2 separate regions of the Homo sapiens genome follow, and region 2 is linked to region 1. The links are contacts of gene promoters, found by promoter capture Hi-C in blood cells and fetal thymus (Javierre and others, 2016). All regions are on one chromosome and are shown on one strand. The core of a region is centred on a gene start or on the middle of the fragment in contact, and the rest is flanking DNA. Distances in the headings are between cores, read along the strand shown.

What was found. Contacts are between HindIII fragments. The CHiCAGO score rates a contact against its expected background, and 5 or more counts as called.
Region 2: a contact is called between a fragment that was not itself captured here and the fragment with the promoter of H1-8 in region 1, in 1 of 17 cell types (M1 macrophages). The highest score is 5.8, in M1 macrophages.

Annotation. Positions count from the first base shown.
Region 1 is chr3:129,541,614-129,544,691 of GRCh38, reverse strand. H1-8 (H1.8 linker histone) reads right to left here and starts at 1,517. Exons shown (of 5, transcript NM_153833.3): 1 at 1,386-1,517. The coding sequence starts at 1,473. RefSeq lists an enhancer at 1,477-1,978. The HindIII fragment of the contact is 913 bases long and covers 782-1,694 here.
Region 2 is chr3:129,824,863-129,827,940 of GRCh38, reverse strand. TMCC1 (transmembrane and coiled-coil domain family 1) reads left to right here. Exons shown (of 7, transcript NM_001017395.5): 4 at 1-138. Among named protein-coding and RNA genes, the nearest start is that of TMCC1, 67 kb to the left of the region's middle. The HindIII fragment of the contact is 2,654 bases long and covers 1-2,577 here.

The DNA.
Region 1 (3,078 bases), core at 268-2,767:
CCAGAGAGCCACCCCCAGGAGTCCTCCCTCAGGTCTGTTCCCTCTCATCCCAGCCCCTCATTCGGCAGCTATTCCATGCCTGCTGTATACCAGGATGTCCAGAACAGAGCTCAGCCCCCCAAATCTGCCCCTCCTCTCTCTTCCAGGAATGCCCCATGCCCCCACTGCCCATACCTACCCAACATCCAAGCAAGAACTGGGGGCATTCTGGGCCCTTTCCTCCTCACCACACCCACTCGAGGCCTCCCCATAGGCTTTTCTCTCCATATTCTGGCCTCTCCTCTCCAACTCCCCAGCCCCAGCCTCCTCCCCACTGCCTCTTCCCCACCGCATGCATTCTCCTCGCTGTATCTCACACCCCTCACCTCCCTGCTTGAAACCGTCCATGGCTCCCTGTTCAAGATAAAAGTTGACCTAACTGAAGACCGCCTTGGAGGCCCTCCCACTGCTCCCCTAGCACTGCCCCAGCACTTCCCTCCTTCCCAGAAGGAAGATGCAGCTTCCGAGACAAGCTGCTGGTGCGCTGGCCTCTGGGCCTTAGCCCATGCCGTTTCCTCTGCCTGGGCTGCCTCTCTCCTCCCGGTCATGCAGGCTGCTCTCACTCATCCTTCAAGGCTCAAAATGCACCTTGGTTTGGACACCTCTGACTTCCCAGTTAACTCTGCCCTTTTACTTCTCGGCACCTGGACCCCCTCCCTATCTCCCTAGGTGTCTTGGCAAATAGAACACTTCCCCCGGCTGAGGCACACCCATCCTTCAGGGTCACCTCTTCTAGGAAGCTTTCCCTGACCTCCCAGAGTGGGTTAGAGGACTCCTCTGGGCTCCTCCAGCTCTGGATTACCGCCACTGAAGCACACATCACATTAGCAAACAGCAACAAGCCATGGGCCAGGCTTCCCCATCAGACCGGGAGGTCCTCGAGGGAGTGAACTGGGCCTGGTTTGCCTCGGTGCACCCTCATGTCCAGATAAACCCTGAGGTGTTTTTTGGTTGAAAATCGGAATGCCTAGCCCTGCATAAAATGCTCCTGCCCCAGTCCCTCCAACTAGCTGCCCACAGCTGCAGCCTGGCTACGGGCTACGGTCCCAGCAGGAAACGGGCTCCAGCTGGAAGGCCCTGTGGCTCTTCCCTGAGCGAGGCCGGCCCCAGCCCCCAGGCCCTACCTGGCCTTGCTACCTGTAGATCAGCTCTTCAGCCAAAAGGCAGTTGAGCTCAGCAGCTTGGTGCTGGGTGGGTGCTGGGTGAGTGCTGGGTGAGTGCTGGGTGGGTGCTGGGTAGGTGCTGGGGCCAGGCTGGGAAAGAACGAGAAGCAGGGGTGGAGCATCAAAGGCAACCCAGGGAGTGGGCTCGCAGGGATGAGGGAGGAGCTGCCTCCTCTTGCTCACCTGGCTTTTCAGATTCAGGAGACCTGGATGATCCTGCTGTGGAAGTCGAGGAGGGTGAGATGTCGCTGGTGACGCTCCCAGGAGCCATGAGACCGACAGGTGCAGCCAGCAGACCCCTCACCCGGGTGTGAGGCTGCTGGGCCTGCCCACTAGGCTTATATACCAGCAGCCCACCCCCACCACTCCAATCAGCCCTGATTGGGCTGGGAGTGCTCCAAGCTGCTGACTGGGGCTGGAGGTGTGGAATGGGGCACAGCATCCTGCCTTCTGTAGGGAGCCCCAGCTGGACTACCCACTCCTGTGTAAGCTTGGGGGTGTCGCTTGACTTCTCTGGGTCTCAGTCCCCATGGTGCAATGTTGGGAGCTGAGATGCTTGATCTCGCCTGTGCCCTCTGCCCACCAGGGGCTGGAGATGCTGATGAGGAATTGGGGTCACCTGTGTTGTCAGGGAGGCCGCTGAGGCGGCCCTCTAATCCTACCAGGTGGGCAATGGGCTGCCCCACGCCACTGCTGGCCTCAATTTCTCAAAAAGTAGCAGTTGGAGGCAGCCCAACTGCTACTTTTGCCCAGAGCACATGCCCCTCAATCAGAGTAGCCCCTTCTGAGGCCAGCCAGGCTCTCTGGGCCTATGCCCTCCTTTGGTTTTGTTTTTAAAGAAATAAATCAATAACGGAGGATGCTTCACAAAAGTCTTCATAGATAAGGACAACATCCACTGGGACAATGGACAAAGAATATAAACAGGCAATTCACCAGCCTAAAGGGTGAGGAACAGAAACAGGAAAATGGACACTCAACTTCCTTGGCATTTGAGAAAATTCAAATTGAAACAATGGTGAAATACTACTTTTTCCCATCAAATTGACAGACAAAAAAAAAAAACTTTCCAAGCAAACACCCAAGGCCTGGCTAAATCACACCCTTTCTGCAGAATATTCTGCAGCCATCTAAAATGACAAGGTGGGCTGGTGCGGTGGCTCAGGCCTGTAATCCTAGCACTTTGGGAGGCTGAGGTGGGCGGATCACCTGAGGTCAGGAGTTTGAGACCAGCCTGGCCAACATGGTAAAACTTCATCTCTACTAAAAATACAAAATTAGCTGGGCGTGGTGGTGTGCACCTGTAGTCCCAGCTACTTGGGAGGCTGAGGCAGGAGAATCACTTGAACCTGGGAGCTGGAGACTGCAGTGAACCAGGATCGAGCCATTGCACTCCAGCCTGGGCAACAAGAGCGAAACTGTGTCTCAAAAATAAGTAAATAAAAATAAAATAAAATAATATAATATAATATAAAATGACAAGATGGATTAAAACAAGGATGAGAGGCCAGGCATGGTGGCTCATACCTGTAATCCCAGAACTTCGGGAGGCTGAGGCAGGAGGATCGCTTGAGCCCAGGAGTTCAAGACCAGCCTAGGCAAAAAAGTGAAATCCTGTCTCTACCAAAAAATACAAAAATTAGCTGGGCATGGTGGTGTGCACCTGTAGTCCCAGCTACCTGGGAGGCCGAGGCAGGAGGATTGCTTGAGCCTGGGAGGTCAAGGCTGCAGGGAGCTGTGATCACACCCCTGCACTCCAGCCTGGGCTACAGAGTAAGACCCTGCCCCCCCCAAAAAAAAGGGGGAGGGAAAGAAAAGAAAACAAACAAGAATGAGGCTGTATTTCACACTCAGCAAAATGACAAAGATGTAAGTG
Region 2 (3,078 bases), core at 1-2,500, 280 kb before region 1:
GCTGTTATGCAGTCAGGCCGACCCAGGTCTTCATCCACAACTGATGCACCTACCAGCTCTGCTATGATGGAAATAGCTTGTGCTGCTGCTGCTGCTGCTGCTGCATGTCTACCAGGAGAGGAGGGAACTGCGGAGCGGGTAAGTTTGTAAGATTTTGTTTTTCTGTTAACTTACTGTTTTTCATACCTAGGACTCTCCAGACTTTCCTTTGGTAACTAAAAAGATATCTCAGCAAATACCTTAAAGTTGTGGTAAAAGAATTTTTCCCCTTTTCAAATGGGTAAATAATAATTATAGCTAATGAATGAATGCTTAGAATTATATTCCTATTTCCTTCCTAACATAGTGCTATATTTTATTTTATCCTTTCGTTAAAACCTTAAGTATATTTCATGTATTCTTTCTGTATATTTGAGGGTCAGTTTTATGGTAGAGCAATAAAGATGCTTTGTTTCTTATTGTTTTGATTTTGCACATGGAGATGGCTTTCTTACATTAATGAATGTAGTGAATAAAGTTCTAGAATCTGAGTTTGTGCTTACCATGGAAGTACACTAAGTTGGTTATAATTTTCATATACTTTGTAGTACATCAGCAGCATTCATTTTACATTTTGCATGCCACAGTAGAGCATATACATTATTATAGTGTACTATTAATAAACAGATTGTTTTGGGTTTACCCAAAACCAGGCATATTAAATCTAGGAGAAACTTTTTCCATATAACTCTCAGTTATGGTTAGTTGAGGCACATAGAAGAAATAGTCCTGCTAGGGTTTGAAAACTCAGGTACGCGTAGCCATGCAGGTAGTGACAATGAGTGAACTTAGGTGTTATGGAGCTTGGACAAACTGAGGAGTTCCTGCTTTGTTTAACAGAGGCAATGTCTTAGCTTTAGCTGATGGTTGAAATTTAGTACTGTGGGCACAGTCTTGCCAGAGCTTCTGATTTTTTTCAAGAGAAACTGGAAATCTAGATGGGAAATCTCTTGATTTTTAACAGATATGCAAGCCACACTGAACACATTTGTGGGCTAGGTCTGCCTTGTAAGTTACCATTCAACTATCTTTCAGCATTACTTTTGTGTATTCCTTAAGGTTTTTGTTTGATCGTTTTCATTCTGTGTCTGCTTGCGGTACAGTTAGGTTTTTTTTTATTGGATATTAAGTTACCTGGAAATATAAATACTGAGTCTAGTACCTTAAACTTTTCCTAAGGTTTTTTTTTTATTGGATATTAAGTTACCTGGAAATATAAATATTGAGTCTAGAACTTTAAACCTTTCCTACCTAAATATGATATTTAAAACATATAGATAATGGACAGTAAATCACTTTAAACCTGTCAAAATAATGATGTGAATTAAAATTCAAAAAATTTAAATGGGGAAAAGTACCACATATTTATGTGTATATTCATTTTATTTTTTTTGGAGACAGGGTCTTACCCTGTCACCTAGGCTGGGGTGCAGTGGTGTGATCGTGGCTCACTGCAGCCTTAACCTCCCCAGACTCAGGTGATCATCCCACCTCAGCCTCCTGAGTAGCTGGTACTACAGGCGCATGCCAGCATGTCTGGCCAATTTTTTTTTTTTTTTTTTTGTAGAGAGGAGATTTTGCCTTGTTGCCCAGGCCAGTCTCAAACTCCTGAGTTCAAGTGATCCATCCACCTCAGCCTCCCAAAGTGCTGAGGTTACAGGCATGAGCCACCGTGTCCAGCCTATATTAGTTATCTTTGAAATAAAAAGAATATTTGGTCACTGATTACCCAAACTAGTTGGCAGTAAAGATTGACAGTGCAGCTATGTACCTTGTCTTAATCTTCAGCCTTTACCAGAGAACATTAAGGAATTTACAGCTAGTGATTCTGGGATTATAGACTTTTATGTTAAAAAGAAAAAGTGTAAGTAAAGCAGATTTTATTGGAAAACTTCAAGAGAAAGAGGGCAAAGTGAGAACTTTTTTCATAACATTGTTTCTTTAATGCTTTGTCAACTTTATTAGCATATGCTTACAGTAAAATCCACCAGTTTTAAGTGTACATCTTGACTAGTTTTGAAAAATGTGTAGTTTTATAGTAACACAGTCATTATATAGAACATTCCCATTACCCCCAAATAATGATTTCTCATGCCCCTTGGCTGCAGTCAGTCCCTCTTACCCAACCGGTGGCCTCTGGTAGCCGCTGATCTGCTTTCTATTGCTATAGTTTTGCCTTTTCTAGAATTTCCTAAAAAATTAGATCATGCAGTCTTTTGTGTTTGACTTCTTTCATTTAGTGTAATACTTTTCAACTGTTGTTGATTCAACTGTTGTTGAATGTGTTGATAGTTTGTTCCTTTTTATTGCTGCACTCCAGGCTGGGCAACAAAGCAAGACCCTGTCTCAACCCCCTACCACCCACCCCCACCAAAAAAGATAGATGTAAACTTCGGAGCTTCTAAAGGGAAAGTTTGGAAGTTATGGATTCAGGTTCTCTATTAAGGTTAATATCACTTCAGAGCTCACTATATCATCTTCTTATTTATAGCCAGATTTAGGAAAAGCAGTGTATATTAGGCTGCAATGAGGGAAGCTTTTTGGATTACTTATAGGCAGAAGGAAAGGGAAATTTTTGTAATGCCTGGCTGTACCTGGAAGATAGAGAAAAGTGGAAGAAGTTTGAGGGAGATGTATGTGTTCAAATAAAAAGATTTCTAAGTTTGAATTAGTTGAACTGTAAGCAAAACTAGTAATGCAGGTGTACTGTTCTCCCAGTGGGGAAGAAATGAAGCGGGGAAAAGGATAATTCATTTTGTTGACCACCAGGTGGTGCCCTAGGTGAGGATTGGTAGGTGGAAGTGAGGGGATGGATGCCTGACAGGACATTGATTAACCCCGGGGTGATAATTTAATTAGTACAGGAAGTCATTAGGATGTGGGCTAGCTTGAGCACAGTGACTATTAAATAGTGATAGTGCTCTTATAAATATTGAGCTGAATTGATAACTGTGGAAGTGGAATGGACAATAGAAGAACAGGTAGGATTTGATAACAATGTTAGAATAAAAAATTTTAAAATCTGAAGTTTGCTTGGGA